Linked DNA regions of Homo sapiens: all the other regions are linked to region 5. The links are contacts of gene promoters, found by promoter capture Hi-C in blood cells and fetal thymus (Javierre and others, 2016). All regions are on one chromosome and are shown on one strand. Each heading gives the region's core, a stretch centred on a gene start or on the middle of the fragment in contact. The rest is flanking DNA. Distances are from core to core; before and after follow the strand shown.

Evidence for each region. The method cuts DNA at HindIII sites, captures the fragments that hold promoters and counts their contacts. A CHiCAGO score of 5 or more calls a contact.
Region 1: a contact is called between a fragment that was not itself captured here and the fragment with the promoter of PCCB in region 5, in 10 of 17 cell types (total CD4 T cells, non-activated CD4 T cells, naive CD8 T cells and 7 more). The highest score is 11.1, in total CD4 T cells.
Region 2: a contact is called between a fragment that was not itself captured here and the fragment with the promoter of PCCB in region 5, in 11 of 17 cell types (non-activated CD4 T cells, neutrophils, naive CD8 T cells and 8 more). The highest score is 13.5, in non-activated CD4 T cells.
Region 3: a contact is called between a fragment that was not itself captured here and the fragment with the promoter of PCCB in region 5, in 4 of 17 cell types (total CD8 T cells, naive CD8 T cells, total B cells and 1 more). The highest score is 7.7, in total CD8 T cells.
Region 4: a contact is called between a fragment that was not itself captured here and the fragment with the promoter of PCCB in region 5, in 2 of 17 cell types (neutrophils and naive CD8 T cells). The highest score is 6.6, in neutrophils.
Region 6: a fragment that was not itself captured here is called in contact with the fragment with the promoter of PCCB in region 5 in 17 of 17 cell types (non-activated CD4 T cells, fetal thymus, total CD4 T cells and 14 more); the score reaches 18.1 in non-activated CD4 T cells.
Region 7: a fragment that was not itself captured here is called in contact with the fragment with the promoter of PCCB in region 5 in 6 of 17 cell types (fetal thymus, neutrophils, total CD8 T cells and 3 more); the score reaches 10.7 in fetal thymus.

Annotation. Positions count from the first base shown.
Region 1 is chr3:136,921,166-136,925,246 of GRCh38, forward strand. The region is part of intron 1 of NCK1 (NCK adaptor protein 1); the gene reads left to right. Among named protein-coding and RNA genes, the nearest start is that of IL20RB, 35 kb to the right of the region's middle. The HindIII fragment of the contact is 2,419 bases long and covers 1,212-3,630 here.
Region 2 is chr3:136,884,711-136,888,835 of GRCh38, forward strand. All of the region lies in intron 1 of NCK1 (NCK adaptor protein 1), which reads left to right. Among named protein-coding and RNA genes, the nearest start is that of NCK1, 25 kb to the left of the region's middle. The HindIII fragment of the contact is 2,649 bases long and covers 1,188-3,836 here.
Region 3 is chr3:136,938,747-136,942,880 of GRCh38, forward strand. The region is part of intron 2 of NCK1 (NCK adaptor protein 1); the gene reads left to right. Among named protein-coding and RNA genes, the nearest start is that of IL20RB, 17 kb to the right of the region's middle. The HindIII fragment of the contact is 3,059 bases long and covers 830-3,888 here.
Region 4 is chr3:136,997,745-137,001,549 of GRCh38, forward strand. All of the region lies in intron 6 of IL20RB (interleukin 20 receptor subunit beta), which reads left to right. Among named protein-coding and RNA genes, the nearest start is that of IL20RB-AS1, 17 kb to the left of the region's middle. The HindIII fragment of the contact is 6,892 bases long and covers 1-3,805 here.
Region 5 is chr3:136,248,120-136,251,682 of GRCh38, forward strand. It overlaps PCCB (propionyl-CoA carboxylase subunit beta), which reads left to right and starts at 2,221. Exons shown (of 15, transcript NM_000532.5): 1 at 2,221-2,439. The coding sequence starts at 2,257. RefSeq lists enhancers at 1,860-2,726, 1,956-2,015, 2,646-2,695. The HindIII fragment of the contact is 10,493 bases long and covers 1-2,704 here.
Region 6 is chr3:137,018,984-137,022,994 of GRCh38, forward strand. No RefSeq gene overlaps it. Among named protein-coding and RNA genes, the nearest start is that of IL20RB-AS1, 39 kb to the left of the region's middle. The HindIII fragment of the contact is 967 bases long and covers 1,239-2,205 here.
Region 7 is chr3:136,960,351-136,964,415 of GRCh38, forward strand. All of the region lies in intron 1 of IL20RB (interleukin 20 receptor subunit beta), which reads left to right. All of the region lies in intron 2 of IL20RB-AS1 (IL20RB antisense RNA 1), which reads right to left. Among named protein-coding and RNA genes, the nearest start is that of IL20RB, 4.4 kb to the left of the region's middle. The HindIII fragment of the contact is 1,768 bases long and covers 808-2,575 here.

The sequences.
Region 1 (4,081 bases), core at 1,171-3,670, 670 kb after region 5:
CTTCATCTTGCAAAACTTAAACTCTGTACCCATTAAACAGTAACTCCCCTGTATATAGATAGCCAAACTACCAGTCATGTATGAGAGAACAAAATCACTTTCAGATATGCATTCTAAAAAATTTAATTCCAATATATTTTTAACTCAGGAAACAACTAGAGGACGTGCTCCAGCAAAATGAAGGGTAAAGCAAGAAAAAGTAAGACATAGGATCTAGGAAGCGGAGGAACTGTGGGCAGTAGTTCCAATATTGGTTTCATTTTCTAAACTTTTGCTGTGGTATTTGCATCTTTGCTTTATGCAGGGATGTGTGGGGCTTGAGTGGTGTTTATATTGTACTTCATTTCTTAGTGCCTTTGTGATGCTTCTTTGGATATTCTATGCATGTCCAATTTGGGAGAGCCCAGTACTTGTGTTGGTCCATAACTAGAATTATAGATGTCGAAGATAAACTGGACACTAGTTAAAATGGTAAGGACAGATTTTATTCAGTAACTATTGCAGTAGGGAAGAGTGTCCAGTGTGAACTCAACTCACTTTTGCCAAAACAAAAGGGGAAGAGACTTTTTTAAAGGTTGAGTATGCTAAGGGAAAGACACTGCTAAGGGAAAGAAAGATGGTTTTTTTGTTTTGTTTTGAGACGGAGTCTGTCTCTGTCACCAGGCTGGAGTGCAGTGGCGTGATCTCAGCTCACTGCAGTCTCCGCCTCCCAGACTCAAGCAATTCCCCTGCCTCAGTCTCCTGAGTAGCTGGGACTACAGGCACGCACCACCACGCCCAGCTAATTTTATTGTATTTTAGTAGAGACGGGGTTTCACCATGTTGGCCAGGATGGTCTTAGTTTCCTGACCTCGTGATCTGCCTGCCTCGGCCTCCCAAAGTGCTGGGATTACAGGCGTGAGCCACCGCGCCCGGCCACTGAGTGGTTTTTAAGGGCAATAGGTGGTCCATGTGAGTAGGCCATCTGGGTTTGTTATTGGCATTTATCTGGAAGAGAAACAAACTTATTATTTATGACAGGAGGTGGTGGTACAAATTAGGCCCACCAATGTTTGGCCCTTACCCTCTCGCCAGGGACTGGGAACAAAAGTGAAAGTTATCTTTTTGATTGTTTGCATTCCAAAGAGGTAGTTCTCAGGTCCTTGGGAAGATAGTTCTTGATGGTAGAAGATTTAAGTCACAAAGGGACAGAGAAAGGATTTATAATTTCAAGCTTTCTAAGGTAACTGCTCTAAATGGGGGTTCAGGTGACCATCTGCCTATCACCAGGTTTTGGCTGGAACAAACGGTAAATTCTGGCCATGTGGAGCCTTTTCAGGTAAGGAACTTGATGGAGTTGGAGTCATTATTCTAGGATATGGGGAAAAGATATGAACAAGCACTTTACACAGAAAAACAAATGTAAATGTCCCTTAAATATGGGAAAAGAAATCACTGTAATAAGAGAAATACAAATTACAACTCTGAAATACTATTTCTCCCCTATTAGATTGGCAAAAATCCAAAAGATTGACAACATAGTTTGTTGGCAAGGCTGTGGGGAAATAATCACTGATATATTGTTAGGAGTTTTTAAAAATAGTTTATGAATACAGAATTTAGCAGTATCTCACAAAATTATACAAACTTTAGCTGTAACTCAGCATTCTTCTATGATTCTAACCCAAAGGTACACTAACAGAAAATCAAAATGACACATGTATGAGGCTGTTCATTGCAGCACTATTTAATCCCAGAAAATTACAAACAACCCATTGACCATCAGTAAGGTCTAGTTGAAGAAAGTGCTACTTACATAATGATGACGCACTCTGCAATTGTTAGAAGTAGTAGATGTATTAGTAAAGGAAGTCTCATGTGCTGCTGTGGAATGATCTTAAGGATAGATTGTTAAACTGAAAATGAAAAGATTCAGGCAATATAGTCTATGCCTATGTGTATGTGTGTGTGTGTGTGCGCGCCTGTGTGCATGTGTGTGTGTATGTTTTGTTGTGGGGGTAGATAAAAATTAGAATTTTCAATTTTCTTATATATTTTTCTTGAATACTTTCCTTAAATTATTTAAAAAAAAATAGAAACATAAACCAAAACAAATAAATAGCTGTCCAGGCCGGGCGCGGTGGCTCACGCCTGTAATCCCAGCACTTTGGGAGGCCGAGGCAGGCGGATCACGAGGTCAGGAGATCGAAACCATCCTGGCTAACACAGTGAAACCCCGTCTCCACTAAAAATACAAAAAAATTAGCCGGGCATGGTGGCGGGCACCTGTAGTCCCGGCTACTCGGAGGCTGAGGCAGGAGAATGCCATGAACCTGGGAGGCGGAGGTTGCAGTGAGCCAGGGTCGCTCCACTGCACTCCAGCCTGGGTGACAGTGCAGTGCGAGACTCCGTCTCAAATAAATAAATAAATAAATAAATAAATAAATAAATGGCTGTCCAGTGGGGTGGATGGGAGAGGGGAGAGAAAAGAGAAGGTATGGAAGAAGACCTCTCTAAATGTTTTAAATATGTTTGATATTTAAGCATATTTAATGTTTAAACATTCATATAAACAATATTAAACATAATGTTCAAACATGTTTGATATTTAAACATCTACCTTGCTTGATAGTTTAGCTTTTAGAACCATCCAAATGTTTTACATAATTATGAAACAATTACATTTTAAAAAGGGAAAATAAAGTGATCTTCAAAAAATGAAAACAAGTGAGCCTAACTCTACGTCCAGTTGGTGTCATAACCACACAGAAGTATATATTCTACCTTTTCTGTAAGGTTTTATGTTTTAGGGTAATAGAACAATAAGCAAAATTTTCCTTTGAGAATAATCACAGTTTCTGAAAGCAGGTAGAGCTAGCACATCATCATTATTGAAATAGTTGATCTAGGCAGTGATCATCAGTGGCAGGTAAAACCATTGGGTAGAGGTTTGATGGGGGAACTTTATAATAATGGATAAATCAGTTCAGTGCTACAAATCTACCATTCAGTCTTAACATCACAGAAAATGGTTCAGGCAGACATAATGTGCCTCCTAATAAATGGCAATAACAAGTACACAAGAATACTTAACGAATTATTCTTGCAACAATGACAAAACAACCTAGAAAAAGTAAAGCCTCTAGAAATAATTACCAGTTTATAGGAGATAGGGGGGATAGAGGAACACCATGAAAATATACACTAGCCAAATTCACGATGTGGGAAATGCTACAGGACAAGTGAAGCCAGCTTCTTAAATAAATGACATAGAGTGGGGAAAGAGAACAGTGTCAGAGACTTAAAACATGTTAGCTTAAGTGCAATATATCGACTTAGTTTGGATCCCAGTTCACACCAACTGTAAGAATGTTTAAAAAAATACACTTAGCAAAAATTGAATATTAGCATTAGATGAAATAAGTGTTGCAGGAGTTCTTAATAAAGGAACACCTTTTCAAAATGAGCTTTTGAAAATATACTGATAATTTAATTTTAGTATAATTGACTTGTTTGCAATCTTATATATTTTTATGCATCAGAAACATTGTGAGTAGAGGTTCTATGTTTCACCACACTGCCATTAGGCAGGAGGAGGGGAGGTCCATGGCTTAACCCATTTGTGCCTAGTGTTCCATTATTGGAACGCTAAGCTTGTGAGAGTTATTTATATCATGCTCAAGGTCGTCACCAAGGTCTGATTTTTCACACAAGAAATTGCAACCTCCGGCATATATGGGTTAAAAAAGGGAAAAGGTCAGGAGCCCTTGATTTGTTCATTTTTGAGGGGTATGGGTTTTTAATCTGTTAGTGCTTAATGAAATCATGGGATTCCAGTTCCCCCACCAAAAATTAGGGGGATAGCTGAACCACAAGGCATAATATTGATAAAATTGGGTGATAGGTATAGGATTCATTATACTATTCTCTTCTGTAAATGTTGAAAAGTGCCATAATTATAAAACTTAAAAGCATTATATAAATTTTTAGTTATTATACCAGTAATGTAGTAGAATGCTATTTTTGTACATTCTGGGGAGGACTAGATAATATTGGTAATACTTTTGTCACCCTGATAGGTAAAGTGTGGTATTTCAGTTTA
Region 2 (4,125 bases), core at 1,262-3,761, 640 kb after region 5:
GCCTGAGCTTTTTTTTTTTTCTTTTTTTGAGAGGGAGTCTCACTCTGTTGCCCAGGTTGGAGTGCAGTGGCCTGATCTCAGCTCACTGCAACCTCTGCCTCTTGAGTTCAAGGGATTCTCCTGCCTCAGCCTCCCAAGTAGCTGGGATTACAGGCACCTGCCACCACAACTGGCTAATTTTTGTATTTTTAGTAGAGATGGTTTTTCACCACGTTGGTCAGGCTGGTCTTGAACTCCTGACCTCAAGTGATCTGCCCACCTCGGCCTCCCAAAGTGTTGAGATTATAGGTGTGAGCCACTGCGCCTGCTGAAGTTCTTATGTTTTAGAGATATTTACTTAAATATTTATGGATGAAAATATTTTTTCAGGTATACACTGAAATATTTACATAAATTTTTAGAGGTATACACCGAAATATTTACAGACAAAAGTTTTTTGCTTCAAAATACTTAAGCAAGGAAACAGGAATGGGTGAGAATATGGATATTGTGGCCGTGGACAAGTGGCCATGAGTTGATGATTTTAGCTACATGATGGGTTTAAGGGGTTTGTTCTCTTCTTTAATGTATGTTTGAAATTTTACATAATAGAAATTATAAAAGGAGGGAATTGTCTTTTCCAGCTGTAATCTAGGGCACATTACTTAACTTTTTTGAGACAGGGTCTTGCTCTGTCACCTAGGCTGGAGTACAGTGGCCTGATAACTCTTCAGCTCCTTACGTAGCTGGAACTATAGGTGCATGCCACCATGGCTGGTTAATTTTTGAATTTTTTGTAGAGACAGGATTTTGCCATGTTGCCCAGGCTGGCCTCCAACTCCTGGGCTCAAGTGATTCGTCTACCTTGGCCTCTGAAAGTGCTGCAATTACAGGTGTGAGCCACAGCACCCAGCGTACTTAAACCTTTGAAGCCTTAGTTTCTTCAGTTAAAAATGGTGATATTAATACTGATTGTATCAGTTTGCTGTGGTGATTAATGACAGTGTATTAAAACTACTTAGCATACTTACTCTGTGCACTCATTGTCCAGTAAATATTTCTGAAGTGAAATACAGTGAGATAATACAGTTAGGCATCAAGGTTAAGGGGTTTGTAGAGGGAGAAAAGGTTCTGGGCTCTTTATAGCAACCTTTCATAAGAGATATGTTCTTTTTAGAATGTTATAAAGTTGGAATGGCTAACTTAAAAGCTTCCATAGACATAATATTTATTTATTTTGGCATGTTTTTAATAGGAGTTTTCTGATCTGAACGTGTACAAAAGCAGCAGTACAGTGGTATTTCATCTGTTCTAAACCACATCCTTTTACTGAATGTTATTCCGGAAGCATTTATAAGGCAGGTGCCCCTTTGAAAGACATTGTCCTTTAAAGTAGTTTGAAACTAAATTTTCATTTAACATTAAAGTCAAATGAGGGAATACTTAAGATGGAAGCATGGGTTAATAAAATTGTATTAACACTAATTTCTTAGAGCACCTGACTTAAAGTATATATTTTTTGGTAGTAACTTGGCTATAGGTAGTATATAGTTATCCTTTTTTTTTTCTTTTGCAGTAAAACTTGGTTATGGATAGTATATACTTGTCCTTTGGTATCCATGAGGTGTTGGTTCCAAGACTCCTTGCAGATACCAAAATTTGAGGATGCTTGAGTCTCTTGTGTAAAATGGGGTACTATTTACATATAACCTATGCACATTCTCCTGTATACTCGAACTCATCTCTAGATTACCTAATACATTGTAAATGGTATTTAGGTAGTTAATGCTATATTGTTTAGGGAATAATGACAAGGAAAAAACGTCTGTATATGTTTAGTACAGGTGCTTTTTTTTTTCCTGAATGTTTTAAATCCACGGCTGGTTGAATTCATAGATGCGGAACCCATAGATACAGAGGGCCAACTGTACTAAGAAATTGCTGTCACAGTCTGTAGATGTCATACAGTTTTGTCTCCAGATAAATGAGAGACCTGTGAACACAAAGGAAACTTTCTTGTATGCCTTTTCATTCTCATGTTTTTAAAGTTCGTTCATTTTTTGTTTAGGGAACTTTAATGAGTTACTTAGGCAGAGTTTGGAACTGTCCTGTAGTTACATGATCAGTCTTTTTTTTTTTTTTTTTTCCTATCTTTCTTTTTCTTTTTTTCTGAGACGGAGTTTTGCTCTTATTGCCCAGGCTGGAATGCAATGGCACAATCTCATCTCACTGCAACCTCCGCCTCCCAGGTTCAAGCGATTCTTATGCCTCAGCCTCCCAAGTAGCTGGGACTACAGGCAGGTGCCACCATGCCCGGCTAATTTTTGTGTTATTAGTAGAGACGGGGTTTCATTATGTTGGCCAGGCTGGTCTCGAACTCCTGACCTCAGGTGATCCACCTGCTTTGGCCTCCCAAAGTGCTGGGATTACAGGTGTGAGCCACTGCACCCAGCCCCTATCTTTTATATTGTGTTTTATTTCTTTAGAAATGAGGTTTCACTGTGTTTTCCAGACTGGAGTACAGTGGCTGTTCACAGGCACCATCATAATGCTGTGTGGCCTCCAACTCTTGGCCTCAAACGATCTTCCCACCTTATCCTCTTGAGTAGCGGGGACTACAGGAGTGCACCGCCATGCTCAGCATTTTTTTTCTATCTTAACATAAAATGGAAAAGTTACTGTTGCCTTTTCTCCTGATAAATAGCAGCCTAAGTAAGACTGGTAGTTTGGAATAAAGGATAAGTTAAAAGGGCAGGAAGGTGAGGAAAGAAGTGTTTAAAAATGAAGGCGAGAAGGAGAAAAAGAAGTTGAGAGATAAAGTTTATATTTTCCTGTGCCTTAGTATCGACTTGCAGTGAATTAGTTGAAAGTTGCCTTGCCAGTTACATATAATTGGTGACTTTTAAGTTATTTGTCACCTGGAACAGACATAACTTCTTTAGCATACAATTCAGATACAACTGTCATTGAATTTATGTTTCCATAAAATTGGTGGTAGAATTTTTAGCATTAGGTAGGAGAAGAGGACAGGGAAAGACAGCTGTGTCTCAGGCACTGTACTGTTTTACCTATTTTGTTAAATCCTCACAGCAACCCTGTAGGTAGGTGTTAACTGAAGCAGAGAGGTTAGATAACTTGCTCAGTGTTACACACTGATGATAAATGACAGAGCAAGAATTCAAACTGTAATGTTTCGGTTCTTGTTATCTTTTATTCATCGCCTTTATTGTTTCTTTTCTTTCTTTCTTTCTTTCTTTTTTTTTTTTTCTTTTGAGATGGAGTCTTGCTCTTGTCGCCCAGGCTGGAGTGCAATGGCATGATCTCTGCTCACTGTAACCTCCGACTCCTAGGTTCAAGCTATTCTCCTGCCTCAGCCTCCCAAGTTGCTGGGATTACAGGCGTCTGCCAGCACGCCTGGCTAATTTTTGTATTTTTAGTAGAGACAGGGTTTCGCCATGTTGGCCAGGCTGGTCTCAAACTCCTGACCTCGTGATCTGCCTGCCTCGGCCTCCCAAAGTGCTGAGATTACAGGTGTGAGCCACCGTGCCTGGCCCTCCTTGCTTTATTTTATGATTCCATTCAGTCATTAGTCTTGTCGGTTTTTAAAAAAAGGTTTTATTGAGATATGATTCACATACTATACAGTTCACTCATTAAAAGTATACAATTCAGCTTTTAGTATATTCAGAGTTGTGCAACCATCACCACAATATCAGAATTTTTTTTTTTTTTGAGACGGAGTCTCGCTGTGTCACCAGGGTGGAGTGCAGTGGCAAAATCTTGGCTGACTGCAACCTCTGCCTCCCAGGTTTAAGTGATTCTCCTGCCTCAGCCTCCGCAGTAGCTGGGACTACAGAAGCTTGCCACCATGCCCGGCTAATTTTTTGTATTTTTAGTAGAGACGGGGTTTCACCATGTTGGCCAGGATGGTCTTGATCTCTTGACCTCGCGAGCCACCGCACCCAGCCATATTGGAACACTTTAATCACCTCCCAAAGCAATGCCATACTCATTAGTTGTCACCCCTAACCTCCCCTCTCCGTGTCCTAGGAAACCATTAATCTGCCTTCTGTCTCTATACATTTGCTCATTCTGAACCTTTCATATACATGGAATCATATAGTATGTGGTCCTTTGTAACCGCTT
Region 3 (4,134 bases), core at 1,109-3,608, 690 kb after region 5:
CATAAAACAGGGTTGTGTAGTGATTGGTTAACAAAAACATGATTGGAGCCTAACCCTGTTTTTCCCTTAGGAGCTGTGGTTCAGTATTTGCTAATTCAGTATTTATGGTAACTTTATAGAACATAACTACTGCAAACAATGAAAATCAACTGAATTTTGTTGAGGATTTTTGCATCTATATTTCTAAGTGATATTAGCCAGTTGTCTTGTGATAGCTTTGGTATTCTGGGTAATATTGGCCTCATAGAATGAGTTAATAAGTATTCTCTCCTTTTTTCTTTTTAGAGATGTTTTAGAAGCATTGATGTTAATTCCTCTTTAAACGTTTAGTAAAATCCACCAGTGAAACCATCTGGTCCAGAGCACATTTTTGATGCGAGATGTTTTGTTACTGATTGAATCTTTTACTTGTTATATGTCTGTTCAGATTTTCTATTTTTTCCTGAGTCAGCTTTGGTAGTTTGTGTGTTTCTTGGAATTGATGTTTTTCTTCTAGGTTTTTTAATTTATTGGCATACAGTTGTTCATAGTATTTGTTTATAATCCTTTTTAAAATATCTGTAAGGTCTGTAGAAATGTTATTTCTGATTTTATTTATTTGAGTGTCTCTCTTGTTGGTCTAGCTAAAGAGTTTTCAATTTTACTGATATTTTCAAATAACCACATTTTGGTTTTGTTGATTTCCTCTGTTTTTCTGTTCTCTTTTGTGTATATCTCTGCTCTGATTTTTATTATTTCCTTCTTTTTGCTTTGAGTTTAGTTTTTCTTTTCCAGTTCCTTAAGATTAAATTTAAGTTGGTAATTCGAGATCTTTCTTCTTTTTTATGCAAGCTTTTAGGGCTATAAATTTCCCTCTGAGCATTGCCTTTGCTGCCTCCCATAGGTTTTTGTATGTTGTGTTTTCATTTTCATTTGTCTCACAGTAGTGTCTAATCTTGTGAAATTTCTTGGTGACCTATTGGTTTAAGAGAGTGTTAGTTGCCACACACTTGTTAATTTTCCAGTTTTCCTTTCTGTTATTGATTTCTAGGTTCATTCCATTGTGGTCAGAAAAGATACTTTGTATGACTTCAATCTCAAATTTATTGAGGCCTTTTTTTTTTTTTTTTTTTTTTTAAAATAGAGACAGGGTCTCTCTTTGTTACCTAGGCTGGAGTGCAGTAGCATGATCATGGCTCACTGTAGCCTTTGAACTCCTGGGTTCAAGCAATCCTCCCAACTCAGCCTCCTGAGTAGCTGGAACTACAGGAATGCACCACCACACCTGGCTAATTATTTTATTTTACTTTTTATTTTTGTAGAGACAAGGTCTCACCATCTTGCCCAGGCTGCCGTCAGACTCCTGGGCTCAAGTGATCCCCCGACCTTGGACTCCCAAAGTGTTGGAATTACAGGCTTGAGCCACTGTGCCTGGCCTATTGAGCCTTGTTTTGTGTCCTAATATATGGTCTATCTTGCAGAATATTCCATGTATACTTGAGAAAAATGTGTGATATATTCTGCTTTTGTTTGATGGGATATTCTCTATATGTCTATTAGGTCTAGTTGGTTTATAGTACTGCTCAAGGCCTCTATTTCCTTAATGATTTTTCATTTAGTTCTGTCCCTTACAGAAAGTGGGGTATTGATGTCTCCAAGTATATTGAACTATTTTTCTCCCTCAATTCTGTCATTTTTTGCTTTATATGCCTTGAGGCTCTCTTGTTAGGTATGCATATATTTGTAACTGTTACACTTCTTGATGGACTGATTCTTTTATCAATATATGCTGTCCTTTGTCTTTAAGTCTGTGTTGTGTGATATATATTTATTTATTTTTAGACAGTCTCGCTCTGTTGCCCAGGCTGGAGTGCAGTGGCGTGACCTCGGCTCACTGCAACCTCCGCCTCCCAGGTTCAAGCGATTCTTCTGTCTCAGCCTCCTGAGTAGCTGGGATTACAGGCACCTGACATCATGCCTAACTAATTTTTGTATTTTTGGTAGAGACGGAGTTTCACCATGTTGGCCAGGCTAGTCTTGAACTCCTGAGCTCAAGTGATCCACCCGCCTCGGCTTCCTAAAGTGCAGGGATTACAGGCATGAGACACCGCGCCGGGCCTATGCTGTGTGATATTTATATAGCCACCCCACTCTCTCAGTTATCCTTTACATGGGATATCTTCTTCCATCCTTTCATTTTCAAACCTATTTGCATCTTTGTTTGGATCTAAAGTGAGTGTCTTGCAGATAACAGTTGCATCATGTTATTTTTAATCTATTTACATTTAAAGTTATATCTGATAAGGAAGGATTTCTGCTATTTTGCTGTTTTCATTTACTTTTTTTTCTTTCAATTCTTCTATTACTGTCTTCTTTTGTGATTTCTTTTTCTTTTTTTTTTTTTTTTTTGGAGGGTGGGGGTCAGGGTCTCACTCTGTCACCCAGGCTGGAGTGCAGTGGTGGAATCTCTGCTCACTGCAACCTCTGCCTCCCAGGTTCAAGCGACACTTATATGTCAGCCTCTCGAGTAGCTGGGACTACAGGTGCATGCCACGATGCCTGGCTAATTTTTTGGTATTTTTTTGGTAGAGACGAGGTCTCAGCATGTTGGCCAGGCTGATCTTGAACTTCTGACCTCAAGTGATCCGCCCACCTTGGCCTCCCAAAGTGCTGGGATTACAGGTGTGAGCCTCTGTGACTGGACTATTTTCTCTAATATATTGTTTTATTACCCTTCTTGTTTCTCTTTCTGTATTTTTGTTTTTCCTTAGTGGTTACCCTGGGGATTAACATCTTAGGTTTTTAACAATCATGTTTGAATTAATACCAACTTAGTTTCAGTACTATGCATAACTCTGCTCCTTTGCAGCTCCATCTTTGTATATTACATCTTTACACATTAAAATATATGCCCATTAACCTAGAATTGAAATTTTTGTTTTATGCATTTGTATTTTAAATTGTGTAGGAAAGAAAAGGAGAATTTACAAAAAAAAACTGCAATACTACTGACTTTTATATTTACTTATGTAGCTACCTTTACCATTGTTCTTTATTTCTTCATATGACTTCAAATTACTGTCCAGTGTTTTTTCATTTTAGCCTGGAGGATTCTCTTTAGCACTTCTTTTTTGAGACAGTCTTGCTCTGTCTCCCAGGCTGGAGTACAGTGGTGCGGTCTTGGCTCACTACAACCTCCACCTCCCGGGTTCAAGCAATTCTCCTGCCTCAGCTTCCCGAGTAGCTGGGACTACAAGCGTGTGCCACCACGCCCGGCTAATTTTTTGTATTTTTAGTAGAGACGGGGTTTCACCATGTTGGCCAGGCTGGTTTCGATCTCCTGACCTCGTGATCCACCCACCGCTGTCTCCCAAAGTGCTGGGATTACAGGTGTGAGCCCCTGTGCCCAGCCTCTCTTTAGCATTTCTTAGCACAGGTCTGGTAGTGATGAATTCCTTTAGTTTTTGTTTATCTGGGAATGTCTTATGTTCTCCTTCATTTTTGAAGGACAGTTTTGCTAAATATAGAATTCTTTGTTGGCTCTTTTGCTTTCAGCATCAGATCAGATTCTATCCCCTCCCCAGGGCTTATTACTGCTGCTTATTGTGAGTGGTTGTTGTTTGCTTGTTTAGTGACTTTACTAAACTACTTTTATAAGCTCTATATTCCTGGTCATGTGGGGCCGCTGAAGTCTATTCCATTTGCTTAGTAATCAGCTAGGGTTTTAACAGAGTTTCGTTAAACACCTGGAGCCAAAAGAAAAAACAAACAAACAAAAGAAAACCTCTCCCCATCTTTACAGATGGCTTTATGTTGGGGCAGTTTTTGACCACTTAGTGATGCCATTTATAATTCTGCCTTAGCCTTTGCTTACTGTTTGCTCAAAGCCTGAAGATCAGCCAGGGTGAAAGCTTAGGGTCTTCTTGGGCCTTTCCTGAATGTGCATCCAGCCCTGGCCATGTGCACGTCCTTCTTGATTGGTATACACACCCCTTATTACCCCATGTATATTCTTTCCCATCCCCTTTCTGTCCAGGCTTTTCCATCTGTCTGTTCCTTGTCCCAGTTGTTGTCCCTTGCCCCAGGCTGCTGCATCCATTAAATGATTTTTGCAAAAACCACCCAGGAAGACTCCCTATGCCTGGGAATGATTCA
Region 4 (3,805 bases), core at 1,208-3,707, 750 kb after region 5:
CTCTGCCTTTAAATTGGTATTTTTAGTCCACTAACTTTTTTTTTTTTGAGACGGAGTCCCACCCTGTCACCCAGGCTGGAGTACAGTGGCATGATCTCGGCTCACTGCAACCTCTGCCTCCCGGGTTTAAGGAATCCTGACTCAGCCTCCTGAGTAGCTGGGACTACAGGTGCATGCCCCCACACCCGGCTAATTTTTGTATTTTAGTAGAGACAGGGTTTCACCATATTGATCAGGCTGGTCTTGAATTCCTGACCTCAGGTGATCCACCCGCCTTGGCCTCCCAAAGTGCTGGGATAACAGGTGTGAGCCACTGTGCCTGGCCTCCATTAACATTTAATATAATGATTGATATGGTTGAATTTAGGTCCATGATTTTCTTTTCTTTTTTTTTTTTTTTTTTCCCCTCTGTTCTTTTTCTGCCTCTTTTTGGGTTAATTAAAAATTTTTTTTGAATTTCACTTTAGTGACTTTTTAGTTATTCTTCTTCACATTACTTTTTCATGGTTGTCCTAAGAGTTACAATATACATATTCTTAACTTTTCACAGTCTACTTAGAGTTAATATTATATCATTTCACATGAAATGTAAGAATTTTGGAATAATTTTTGCTTTATATAGTCATATATATTTTTAAGGTATTTAAAATAATCTTTTATATTTACCCACATATTTACCATTTCTGGAACTCTTTCTTCTTTTCTGAGATCTTTATTTCCATCTGGTGTGGGCTTCCTGTCATTTTATAAAACTTCTTGACTTTTTTTAATTATAGGTTTAGTAATGTAGATCTGCTAGTGACAAATTCTCTTTGATTTTTTTTATCTGAAAATGTCTTTATTTTGCTTTCATTCTTGAAGGATATTTTTGCTGGATTCTTGGTTGGCAATTTTTTCTTACTATATTTTCATTTTAAATATTAATTATAATATTTCAAAAATAATAACATTTTATTTTAATAAAGATGGCATCTTGCTATGTTGCCCAGGCTAGTCTGGAACTCCTGGGCTTAAACAATCCTCTTTCTTGGCCTCCCAAAGTGCTGGGATGACATGTGCGAGAGCCACTGCACCCAGCTCTTACTACTTTAAAAGTATTGTTTAATTGTCTTCTAGCTTACATTGTTTTTGATAAGAAAACATCCATGATTTTTTTAACATCATTCCCCTATGTGAAATGTGTTCTTTTTCTCTTGCTGGTTTTAAATTACCATTGGCTTTCACCAGTTAAATTATAACATGCCTAGATGGGGTTTGCATTATATTTATCTTGCTTATAGTATACTGAGCTTCTTGAATCTGTACATGTATATATTTTTAAGCTACAATTTGGAAAATTTTCAGCCTTTTTTTTTCTTTTTATTTTTTTAGAGACAGGGTCTCACTCTGCCACTCAGGCTGGAGTGCAGTGGCATGATTATGGCTCACTGCAGCCTCGACCTTCTGGGTTCAAGTGATCCTCCCACTTCAGCCTCTTGAGTAGTTGGGACTACAAGCATGTGACAGAGCAACCAGCTAATTTTTAAATTTTATGTAGAGACAGGGTCTTGCTATGTTGTCCAGGTTGGTCTTGAACTCCTGGCTCAAGCAATCCTCCTGCTTTGGACTCCCAAAGTGCTGGGATTATAGGCATGAGCCACTGCACCTGGCCACAGCTAATTATTTTATTTTTTTGTAGTGATGGGGTTCTCCCTATGTTTCCCAGGCTGGTCTGGAACTCCTGGGCTCAAGTGATATCCTTCCGCCTTGGCCTCCCAAAGTGTTGGGCTTAACAGATATGAGCCACTGCTCCCAGCCCATATTTCTTCAGGTATTTTTTTTTTTTTTGTCTCATTCTCTTCTCTCCTTCTGTGAGTCCAATCTTATTTATATTAGACCTTCAGATATTGTCTCCATAGATACCTGAGACTCCATTCATTTTTATAAAAAACTTCTTTTCCTCTTCTTTATTCTTCAGATTGAATAATTTTATTAACCTATCTTCTTGTTCACTGACTCTTCTGTTATCACCAGTCTGATTTTAGGCACGTCTAGTGAATTTTGTATTTAAATTTCAGATATTGTGTTTTTAAATTCTAGAATTTCCATTTGTTTCTTTTTTATAGTAAATATTCTCTGCTGAGATTTTCTATTTGGTCATTTATTATGAGAATATTTTCTTCTGTCTTTGAGCATCATTATAAATACCTTTGTCTGCTTTACTTTAAAATCTTTGCTAATTTCACCAGGTGGGTCATGTCAAGGTTGGCCTCTATTGATCGTTTTTTATTTGGTGTAGGTCACATTTTCCTATATTTTGTATGTCTAGTGATTTTGGATTACAGTCTGGATATTGCCAACAATATGTTATAGAGATTTTGGATTCAGTTATGTTCCTCTGAAAACTATTGATTTTTTTTGTTTGTTTATTTGCTTTAGTAAGCAGTTAGTTTAGAAGAAAGACTCAACTTTGGTCTCCTATGCAGTAGGCAGTTGATATCTATTAGACTGTTTAGCCTTAGACAGACTGGTAGGAGCTTTCCCCACACCTGTACCTCACACAGTTCAAAGGTCAATCAGATATTTGGGCAGAATTTATGTACAGAATTGCAGCTCCCCTTTTCTGGCTCTCTCCTTTTTGGGATTTTTCCTCTTACTTTCTAACTTCTGTGTTTGCACCAGTCTCTGTTTTTTGGCTTTTCAAAAACAGTAAGACTATGGCACCAAGTGGGACCTGCCTTTAGGCAAGGAGCTGTGAAAAATGGGAAACTCACCCAGTGACATTCCCTTCTTCCAAGCATGAACTTTTAGTTGCTCTACCATGATTTAAGGAATCTGTTTTTAATATTTGGGTCAGTTTTAAAAGTTGTAATCTGAGGAGTGTTGGTCTGATTGGTGCTCTCCTGACATAAGTGGAAGTAGAAACCTGCAATAAAAGAGGAATCCCTTGACCTAATCCAAAGCGATGGTAATGGTAGGGAGCATTTCTGGCTGAGGCATATCAATAGCTCTTCTTTCTCATACGTGGTGAAAAGCTCAGCCTTCCTCAGCTGGGCTCCATCAGATGGTCTTCTGTTGTGATTTCTCTCTGAACTCTGCTGCCCATGCTTACTCTTACAGGCAACTACACTCTTAACACTCTCTCTTATGTTTTCTTTACTAGTTCTATCAGGGGGCCAGAAGAGTTTTTCTCTCTACCTCAAGATCAGGGGAATGAAGATCTTCCCAAGACCCAGTGCCTTGTTAGTGAGGAACAGGGTAAAGAGACAGGGAAAGAACCATGTAAAGGGTTAATAACTTACAGGATTTCAGGTACACAAGAAGAGTCCTCAACAGCTAAGATCTCCTAGGAATCCTGATGTATCATGAGCCACACCCTAAAATCAGCTTTTGGAGAAAACGAAATAGCTTAGATGAGACCAGAGACTGGAAGACTCTGTGACAGTATGACCAATTTCATCCATGGCAGATAGACGTCACTACCCTTGACTACCTTTTGCTTCCCTGTTCTCTGTTACCATTCTTCCTACATCATTCTGATGTCTGTTCCTACGTGCATTCCCTTCCGTAAGGCTTTTAACTTTTATCCTTACTTCACGCTAAGATTTTTAAAGTGGACAAATTCTCTGAGTCTATGCATTTCCCCACAGTGCTGTGTGAGAAGCAGATCACTAGCGTCCATTGAATCCCGCACAAATTCTTGAGCTGTGAATCAATACTGCCACCTCCCCTCTCTCCGCTATGACTTTAGCATAGCCTAGCTGCATTTCTACATGTGTGTTACTTACAGATACTACCCCAAACTATTAAAAAGTGATTTCTAGCC
Region 5 (3,563 bases), core at 971-3,470:
ACAGCTAAACAATCTTAACACAGTGTGAGATGTGCTTTATGTAAGGAACCTACAAGGCACTGTGGGACAAGGGAGTCCAACTGCCCCCAGGCCAAAAGCAAGTCCCAATTTCTGAACATGAAAAAACTCTTCACAATCTAATGCCATTCTCACTTTCCAGTCTCATTTACCACCATTTCCCCAAAAGCTGGGAACACAACAAAGTATGTGTGTGTGTCTGTGTATGTGAATCTGAACATGCCAGGCCTTTGCTCACACTGCTTCTGTTCCCTGGCATATGGATGCTTTCTTGGAGAAACTCTCCTCAACACACTCAGCCTTACTCAAATTCTCTCTTGTGCTCCCAAGGCAATCTGCCTCTCTAGGTTGTCCATCTGCCTCTCTAGGTTGGTAAAGTCTTTAAAGCAAGGACCCAAATGCAAGGTCAAGAGTACCCATTACGGAGTTATACAGATACAGGTGGGCTTTGCCTAGCCAAGAGGCTTTGGCCTCTAAGCTGCCCTCTCTATCTAGATGAACTGTTACTACTCCAGGAAATGCAATCAGTACTGATGTTTAGTTCTTGGCACATGGTAGGTGCTCAAAAATGTTTTCTGAGTTGAATTGCATTAACATTAAGGTCATAGGTCAGAATTTGTACTTTATGAAGGCCCTGGCTATGAGCTGGATCTGGGAAGGGCTCATGATCAACTTTAGCAGTTTTCTGTGGCTAAAAATGAGAAATATAAACCATGTTCTTTGTCTTGAAGACCTGCCTGTTAGTGGGAGAAACAGATGGTCAAGCTCTCAACAGTACAATTCCAAATTCCTAGAGCAGTGGTTCTTAAACTTTAGCAAGCAGATCAGAATCACCTAAAGGTCATCTGCTAAAACAGATGGCTGGCCCCAGCCCCAGAGTTTCTGATTTAAAGGTCTGGAGTAAGTTCTGAGAATTCGAGCTTGCATTTCCAACTCACTCCCAGGTGATACTGAAGTTGCTGGATTGACAAGATTCCCTCCTTGATCAAACATTGGTCAGGCTCTTCTGAGCTCTCTCTTTGACTAGGCCTGAGTGTGGGCTCCCATGTCATTCCTTGTGGAATTCCATTTTAGCAAGAAACTTGCCAAGTCAGTTTAGCCAGAATCCTCCATTCTTGATATCTGATTACTCTCCATATCTGGTTTTGACCCATACCGCCACCATCCCCCAGGTGATGTTCAGTTACCCTGACCTGCCTTGGGCAGGAATCCTGTTAGGTCAATTTAGCCAGATTCCCCGCCAATGTTTCCTCTTAGTAATTTTCCATCCACTGACTTCCACACACTGCCCCTTAGCTATAAATTACCACTTTGCTATATTCAGCCCAATCGCTCTGACTTATGGCAAAACTCTATCCCTACCTCTGTCAGATTGGGCCTGAATAAAGTTTGCCTTACCATTCTTAAACATGAATAATTAAGTGTCATGAATAGTTTTTTCTTTAATGGGATCCATACTTTGAGAACTACTGATTAGAGGTTAAGGGTCCTGTGCTCATTATCTGGCACATATTAATGATAGGTCTCTGAGTTTGAATCCTGGCCAACCACATTGTCAGTCTTGGCTTTTTTTTTTTTTTTTTTTTGAGACAGGGTTTTGCCCAGGCTGGAGTGCAGTGATGCAATCACGGCTCACTGCAGCCTCGACTTCCTGGGCCAAGCCATCCTGCCGCCTTAGCCTCCCGAGTAGCTGGGGTCACAGGTGCAAGCCGCCATGCCCAGCTAATTTTTAATTTTTTTGTAGAGGTGGGGTCTTACTATATTGCTCAGGCTGGTCTTGGGCTCCTGGGCTCACCTACCTCGGCCTCAGTCTTGCCTCTTGATCAAATCACTCATCTCTCTGTGCTTGATTTACCTCATCTGTGAAATCCAGATAGTAAGCTAGTGCATGGTAAGTGCAAAAAGCAACACCTGGCACAATGCTTAATAAATGTTGGTTAAATCTTATAATCATTTTCTGTAGGAAGTGGGACGACAAAGTTAAGGGTCTAGGTGGTCAGAGAAGAGCAAGGACTATGTCCCTTTTTTGTGCAGCCAGGCAGGCCCTGTACTTTTTCTCTGCGCGACCCTCCTCGGGCAGCACCGGGTCTCGAACTCTCACGCCTTACTCCCAAGCAGGTTCTGTAGTCCAGCCCCCGCGGCTCCCTACAGCCAGCCGATGCTGCGCAAGCGCCGTACCCACGCTTTAGCACATGCGTACTCAGGTGCGCCGGTAGGGGACGCGCCGGCACAGCAAAAATGGCGGCGGCATTACGGGTGGCGGCGGTCGGGGCAAGGCTCAGCGTTCTGGCGAGCGGTCTCCGCGCCGCGGTCCGCAGCCTTTGCAGCCAGGCCACCTCTGTTAACGAACGCATCGAAAACAAGCGCCGGACCGCGCTGCTGGGAGGGGGCCAACGCCGTATTGACGCGCAGCACAAGCGAGTGAGTCCTGAGGGGCCTAAGTGAGTCCCGCCCCTGGCGTCCGCGACCTATCACTGCGTGCCCGGCTTGCGGCGTCCGAGGCCTCCCTGCCAATCCGCACGGTGCCTGGAGGGGCCGGAGCAAGGGTGTTCACCTTGAAAACCTGTAGCGTTTCTCGTGGAGGCGGGTATAACCAGCAGAAGCACCTGTGTGCTTTTTCATACTGTTTAACCCTTGGGATTTAGACGGATCTGGCTCGTCTCTAGCCAGCTCAACACTTAACATAAGCTTTTGGGCAACTTATTAAATCTCTGTGGGTCATTTTAATAATAATTCTTCCTTCACAAGTGTATCGTTAGACCATAGATAGCAAAATGATAGGCGCTCAGTAAAAACCATGTGCTTATTCTCGTGCCCCATGAAAGAGTGATGGTAGGTTCTTTCTCCTTTGTGGAAGCAGGAAAACTGAACTTGGGCATACTCCACTAACATGAAATGGGGGATGTGCGCGTGCAGGAACTTGTGGAACTTCTGCCCGCAGAATGCCTGGTCGAGCTCTTTAGGGCCTTAGCATGCCTCGCCTTGATGGGTAGCAAAGGCACGTGTCGGAAGCAGGTGGCCTTTCTGGGAGTGCGCAGGCTACTCTCGATGTTTGGCTGGACTGAGCAGTTGAAACACTGCCACCCACCGCCTGGGTTTTGAGGCGAGAATCCAGCTGGCCTTCAGAGATAAGCTGGGCGGCCCATTTTGGAGAGGTGATCCCTGACTTGAAACCAGGCTTGCCCAGTGTGTCCGTGACTGGTGGGTGAGTCTGGACCGTTGTGCTGAACGAATTAACCAACGGGAAGGTGCAGAAGTGAAACTCTTACAGATGAAGAGTATTCAGGCACAACTCACAACCATGAGGGAGGCACTGGGGGAGGGATGGGGTCTTAAAGTGAGGAGATTTGAACAGCTCTATATTTGTCTAATATTGATTCAGATGTCATAAATTCGCATTTGACAAGGGTCCAAAGGTAACAGTTCCTTTTGACACTTGAGAGTGAAATGTAAATTTAGTGATGGTTTGTGGTGCTAGGAGTGCTTTCTCTCCCCTGGGGCTACTTCTAACCTACTCTGTTAGGGCTGAGGGAGATGTTAGATCA
Region 6 (4,011 bases), core at 472-2,971, 770 kb after region 5:
TCCCTGTTTGTCTGTTATTGGTGTATAAGAATGACTGTGATTTTTGCACATTGATTTTGTATCCTGAGACTTTGCTGAAGTTGCTTATCAGCTTAAGGAGATTTTGGGCTGAGACAATGGGGTTTTCTAGATATACAATCATGTCATCTGCAAACAGGGACAATTTGACTTCCTCTTTTCCTAATTGAATACCCTTTATTTCTTTCTCCTGCCTGATTGCCCTGGCCAGAACTTTCAACACTATGTTGAATAGGAGTGGTGAGAGAGGGCATCCCTGTCTTGTGCCAGTTTTCAGAGGGAATGCTTCCAGTTTTTGCCCATTCAGTATGATATTGGGTGTGGGTTTGTCATAAATAGCTCTTATTATTTTGAGATACATCCCATCAATACCTAATTTATTGAGAATTTTTAGCATGAAGGATTGTTGAATTTTGTCAAAGGCCTTTTCTGCATGTATTGAGATAATCATGTGGTTTTTGTCTTTCGTTCTGTTTATATGCTGGATTACGTTTATTGATTTGCGTATGTTGAACCAGCCTTGCATCCCAGGGATGAAGCTGAGTTGATCGTGGTGGATAAGCTTTTTGATGTGCTGCTGGATTCGGTTTGCCAGTATTTTATTGAGGATTTTTGCACTGATGTTCATCAGGGGTATTGGTCTAAAATTCTCTCTTTTCTTTTTATTGTGTCTCTGCCAGGCTTTGGTATCAGGATGATGCTGGCCTCATAAAATGAGTTAGGGATGCTTATGTATTTTTAATTTAAACTTTATTGAAGTATATCTGGTTGTATTGTTATGGCATTTTCATTTCACCTTGGGAAGTTTGAATTTTCTATAGAGTTAAGGTAGTTGGTAATTGTGTTTTCCAAAGACTTCTGAGAATTTGGAAATCTACACTCTATTGGTCTGTAATTAAAATAAGGATGACAGCAATATATATGAAGCAAAGTCTACATTTTTATTCATAAGTCAAAAGAGAGTTTGGGCCAAAATCTTAAGATACTGCATTTATAGCTACTATTCTTGGCTAATCATAAAGAATCTGATCCTCCTGTGAGAAAATAAAAAACTTTGGTTCTGGGTCAAGAAACTACTGATTGGGAGAACCATTTTGATTTTTCACTGAAAATCTTGATGTAATAACACATACCTGATATATTAGGTTGGTAAGGGGGTGTAGAATATTATAAAAGGAGGGAGAGCCTATAGCTCATAAAAAGGAGCAAGATAAATTAAAAGCTTGGAAGATAAGAACAGAATTAAAAAGAAAAAGAAAAAAACAAACAAACTCCTAAACCTGTGAAAGTAACATGGGTTTGATAGATAAAATGTCAGGGGCAAAACTGGCTAATTCAGCCAGAAATCATGTGTGCCAATCTGGATTATACCCATGTATTAAACCATTGTAGATGGAGAAACACAACCGTCATGCAGAATATTGGCCACTGCGCTGCTGGAGGCTCCTCTATCACCTCACGGTAGGGAGGATCCCCTGTTTCCTGGTGGCTGCCAGTCACCCCCCTCTAGAGCTTTGGTCTGTCAGCTGTTCTGATGCCAGGGCTCTCAAACTGCAAACAAACGAGAACAGATGAGCCAAAGCTCTATACAGAGCCAAAGAGTCAGAGGTTATGAATGAGTTTAGAGCAAAGAGATTTTTAGCAAATCCTTAGTGGAATGCCGTCTAAAAATAAACAAAAAAGAACTATTAGAAAAGTTGAGCTGTATTTGATAATTGGAAAATTTGCATTAATGTTGTAATATTATTTTAGAACTAATTTTTCCAGACAAATAAGTGATCATTTATTTTGTTAGAAATCTAGACTTCTTAGCATAGGAGAAGAGGAACTACAATTGCAGAATCAAGAATTTGAGTAGGTGATGAATATTTCAATTACACTGATTTAATCTTTACCAGTGAGGTGAACGTATTAAATTATCACATGTACCCTGAAAATATGTACATCTATGACTTATCAATAAAAAATTAAAAAAAAATAAAACCAGAATGGCACTGATGTTTCAAACCAAGCAAAAAATACCTTAATGGAATTCATAAAACTAAAATTTCTAAAGAAAAACACTCTATCCCATAAATATGTACAATTATTATGTGTCAGCTAAAAATAAAAGAAAAAAGTAAAAAAATAATTTGATGAGGAACACTTTATTGTTAGAACTGGACTGAAAAAATCAAGATAAATTCAAGCTTTTAAAAGAACAAAAATAGTAAATTAAAAATACGTATCCTTTGTCTCTCTGTCTATTGAAATGCCCAGGAGCCATGTCACCTCACAATGCACTTTGGCACCCACATTCTGGTCTCTAATGCTCTTCTTACCAAAAGCGTCTTGGGAGGAATGGCATATTCCATACTTTGAGCTGGAAATTCAAGGAAATCCTAAACACTGAACAACAAGGCCAGAAATCAAGAAAGTTTGAATAAATTAGTAGAGTCAAAAGGACAGAGGAGCCATCTAAAAGGGGTTCTGCTGGCCAAAGTTGAGGCAACTTGAATGTCAAAAGGAGAGTATCGGCTGAAGCCAATGGGCATATGGTGGATTGGAGAAGCCATGAGTCCAAGATGATACATAAAAGGAGCAAAAGACTACGAGTAGTAAGAGAAAATGGAGAAAAAAACAGAGGATTTGTCAGCCAGGCGCGGTGGCTCACACCTGTAATCCCAGCACTTTGGGAGGCCGATGAGGGCAGATCACGACGTCAGGAGATCGAGACCATCTTGGTTAACACGGTGAAACCCCGTCTCTACTAAAAATACAAAAAATTAGCCGGGCGTGGTGGTGGGCTACCCGGGAGGCTGAGGCAGGAGAAAGGCGTGAACCTGGGAGGCAGAGCTTGTAGTGAGCCAAGATCACGCCACTGCACTCCAGCCTGGGCGACAGAGTGAGACTCTGTCTCAAAAAAAAAAAAAAAGAGGATCTGCCAAGTCATTTACATGTTGGCATGTTGGTATTATGTTGGTGTTAGTGATTCGTCTGTTGTGTAGATGAAGAAAACAAAAACTAGGAAACACAAATACATCAGTCAGAAGAAGTTGTATAGCTCAAGGGGAGTATGAGTGGAATGACCCTGTAAGTTGCGACTTTGAGTCACACAATGCCACATAAAATATCACAATTAAATTGGGAAACTGATTATACTCTTGCACTAGAAGGACCCATAACACTGATGCTTAGGAATTGAAGTTTGATGGATTCCGGCTGCTGGCTGGTGGTCAGTCCCCCTCATTTCTTAGTGCATGGGGATCGTTAAGTTAATAGTAAAAGTCCTGCTGAAAAAAAATTTTTCCACAACATTGATCAAAAAGAAAATTCTCTTTCAAGAAATAAATTAACTCAAACTTCATAATAAGCCTGTACAAAGCTGACAAACTGGGCAATAAGTGTCATTAATTCCAAGAGTATTTAAGTATTTAACTTCAGTCAGAGCACGAACACACTCACACACATACATACACACATACGTATACACACATACACACATACATATACACACATACACATACACACATACAAATACACACATACACATATACACACATTCACACTCATACATAAATACATACATATATAAATGTACACATATATAAACACACTTATACATCAATACACACATATACACACATGCAAGTATACACACACACACACATACACACGCACACTTTGAAATGCCCTGAAAACTTACAGTTCATATTGTTAACTTATTTAAAAAACGCCAAAATTTATAAATTTAGAAAAGGAGAGATCTTTTGGATCAACATGTAGAAATGAGATTCGGACTCAAAAAAAAGTTTTCAATAGGACTTTTCTAAATTTCTTATAAAAGGTTACAGCTTGCAAGGTGGCCATCCCACAGGCTGGAAAGCCTGCCTCTGGCCAAGACCAGAGACAGGCACTTTGAAGAAGGAGGGGTTGGGATAGGAGCTTTATGCTGAAAGGATTGGCTAAACACACATGTTCCACAGTTACAGGTTCAAGCGATTCTCCTGCCTC
Region 7 (4,065 bases), core at 442-2,941, 710 kb after region 5:
TTGCCCAGGATGGTCTCGATCTCTTGACCTTGTGATTTGCCCGCCTCGGCCTCCCAAAGTGCTGGGATTACAGGCATGAGCCACCACATCCGGCCATGGCTGTCTTTCATAGAAATCATTTGCCTTGTCCTGTCCCTCCCAAATAATAGTGTGTGATTCAGAAAGCTGATTATGCTACCAATAGTAATAATCACAATGACAATCACAACTGCTATTTCTGAGTACACATTGTGCCTTCAGTTAGCAAAAATGTTATCTTGACTTCTCACATGAATCCTGCAAGTTAGGTGTTATCCCCATTCCACACATTAGGGATAGAGACTAGGAGAGGTTCAGTTATTTGTCCAAGTACCTATATCTAGTAAGTGCAGGAATTGGGATTTGATGATGGTTTGGTCTGCTCCAGAGCCTGTGCCCTTTATATATCTCTGCAGAAAAAGCTGAGACATTAAAACAAGGTAGAAGAAGGGAGGAGGGACAAAGGAAAGGAAATAAAGAAGATGGTGCTACCTTTTCTAATGCATTAGCCTTAAAGGCTGATAGAGGTAAAGGTGGCAGAAGAGGATCCAAATAAAGGGAGTGGACATCAGGCCCACTGAGCGTCCTTCAGAGAAGAGATGCAAAGATTTTTGCCTGGAAAGGTTGCCCCAGGGCTTTTTGGTGGGTAGCCTTCATGCTACTTCCCTTGGACTGACTCACTCAAGGTTTTACGAAATAGGTGTTCAGCAGCAGAAAGGGTCTAATTTAAAGACGAATGAGGGATTAAGAAAAGAGTTAGACCTAGGCTAATTTCCCCAAGGAAGCCAAAGCTTAATTTACTTGTTTAACTTTCATTCTTTTAACACCATTTATGTACCAGGTTCTGGGATGTGTGCTAGTTAGAGAGATTTTAAAAACTTGTCTTCAGGGAGCCTAAGAGCCTGCTGGGAAGTACACTAAAGTCTTTGGCATGTGGGAATTTAACAAAATTTTAACTATTCTTTAGCCACCAGAAGTAAAGTCTAGATTTGTGGTTCCCAACCTCAAATGCACATTGGAATCACCTGGGGAACTTTTTAAAAGCTAAATTCCGTGACTTCACAGCTAGAGATTCTGAGTTAATCTAGGGTGCTGTCTGGATGTTGGGACTTTTTCAAAACAATGTGGGTGGGGCTCCTTAGAGAAGTGATTGATTCCAGGGCTGGGCAGGGAAAAAACAAGATGAGACAAGAGCATTTTGTGGTAAGTAATGAAGTGATTAAAAAAGGATGAGGGCCTAAGTTAACAATTAACATAGTATCCTGGATTGGAGCCTGGGATGGAAGAAAGAACTGAGTGGAAAAACTAGTGAAATTCAAATAAAGTCTGGAGTTTAGTTAATGATAATGTGCCAGTACTGGCTTTTTAGTTTTGACAAATGTATTATGGTTACATAAGATGTTAGCATTCAGGGAAGTTGGGTGAAGGATGTATAGGAATGCTGTGTACTATCTCTGCAATTATTCTGTAAATCTAAAATTATTCCAAAAATTTAAAAATCTATTAATAAAAATAACATGAGTAAAACGGGTGGGAACAAGTTAAAAGGGCACAGGCAGCTTGAAAGTGTTCCCATTGGCCAAAAGCTAGAACAATTTGAATAATAAAATAACAATAGTGTTGGACTTTACAGAATAAATTAAAATATCCATGAGTCCATACCACTAAAAATAAATAATTGAATAAATAAATGGTGGAGAAGGAACAGCTCTTCCTAACAAAAGAATACAATTAAATAAAATATCACTACTAGAACATCACAGCAATAATTATTACAAGAAATATCCATCAGTAGATGTTAAAATTAATAGGTGAAAGTTTGAGGAGGAATGGAATATTTGCACAGTCTCAAAGTATCTCCCCCAAGGTATTTATTAACTACACAGGGGAAAATGGTAGCTTTACAGTAGAGACACTTTCTTAACCAAGTGATCAGGGTGGTTAACATCACCAGTAATAAGACGTATTGATATCATGTACTCCCTGTGAGTGTCTGGAAAAAATGTGTAACCTCAATCAAATCACGTGAAAATATCAGACAAAACCAAACTGAGATACGTTCTACAAAACAACTGGCCAGTACTTCTAAAAAATGTCAAGGTCGGCCAGGCGTGGTGGCTCATGCCTGTAATCCCAGCACTTTGGGAGGCCAGGGCAGGTGGATCACGAGGTCAGGAGATCGAGACCATCCTGGCCAACATGGTGAAACCCCGTCTTTACTAAAAATACAAAAATTAGCCAAGTATGGTGGTGGGCGCCTGTAGTCCCAGCTACTTGGGAGGCTGAGGCAGGAGAATCGCTTGAACCTGGGAGGCAGAGGTTGCAGCGAGCCGAGATTGCACCACTGCACTCCAGTCTGGCAACAGAGCAAGACTCCATCTCAAAAAAAAAACAAAAAACTCAAGGTCATTAAAAAAGACAAAGACAGACTGAAAACAGTTTGGAGGAGACTAACTAGACATGACAGCTAAATGAAAATCCTGAATTGGATTTTGGCCAAAAAAAAAAAAAAAAAAAGCATTAGGGGAAAAACTGATGAAATCTGATTAAATACTGAAGCTTAGTTAATAATATTGCATTAATATTAATATCTTAATTTTTTATAATTGTGCTATGGTTATGTACATATGGAGGGCTGAGTGAAGAGTATATGAGAGCTCTCTGTATTATTTTGCAACTCTTCTGAAAGTCTGAAATTATTTCAAAATACAGTTAATCTGTTCATCATATCACTGGGCTAACATCAAGGTATGGGCAGGACTACATTCCTTCTGGAGGTTTTAGAGAATCTGTTTCCCCCTTCCATGGTATGAATGTACTACAGTTTATCTAACCATTCACCTGTTGAAGGACATCTGGGCCGATTCCAGCTTGACTGTGAATATTTGTGTGCAGGTCTTATGTGATGTAAAGTTTTCATTTCTCTGAGATAAATGCTGAAGAGTGTAATTGCTAGATCATATAGTAACTACATGTTTAGTTTTACAAGAAACTGCCAAACTATTTTGAAAAAGAGTATCATTTTACATTCCTACCAACAATGTATAAGTGATCCACTTGTTCTGTATCCTTGCCAGCATTTAGTTTTGTAACTTTGAAAACTTTTAGCCATTCTGATAACTGTGTAATGCTATCTCATTGTGATTTTAATTTGGATTTCCCTAATAGCTAATAGTGTGCTTATTTGCCATCTATATATCCTCTTTGGTGAAATGTCTATTCATGTCCTTTGCCTATTTTTAGATTGGATTGTTTGATTTTTCTACTGCTGAGTTTTGAGAGTTTTTTATGTGTTCTAGATACTAGTTCTTTTTTTTTTTTTTTATTTTTTTTTTTTATTATACTCTAAGTTTTAGGGTACATGTGCACATTGTGCAGGTTAGTTACATATGTATACATGTGCCATGCTGGTGCGCTGCACCCACTAACGTGTCATCTAGCATTAGGTATATCTCCTAATGCTATCCCTCCCCCCTCCCCCGACCCCACCACAGTCCCCAGAGTGTGATATTCCCCTTCCTGTGTCCATGTGATCTCATTGTTCAATTCCCACCTATGAGTGAGAATATGCGGTGTTTGGTTTTTTGTTCTTGCGATAGTTTACTGAGAATGATGGTTTCCAATTTCATCCATGTCCCTACAAAGGACATGAACTCATCATTTTTTATGGCTGCATAGTATTCCATGGTGTATATTTGCCACATTTTCTTAATCCAGTCTATCATTGTTGGACATTTGGGTTGGTTCCAAGTCTTTGCTATTGTGAATAGTGCCGCAATAAACATACGTGTGCATGTGTCTTTATAGCAGCATGATTTATAGTCCTTTGGGTATATACCCAGTAATGGGATGGCTGGGTCAAATGGTATTTCTAGTTCTAGATCCCTGAGGAATCGCCACACTGACTTCCACAATGGTTGAACTAGTTTACAGTCCCACCAACAGTGTAAAAGTGTTCCTATTTCTCCACATCCTCTCCAACACCTGTTGTTTCCTGACTTTTTAATGATTGCCGTTCTAACTGGTGTGAGATGATATCTCATAGTG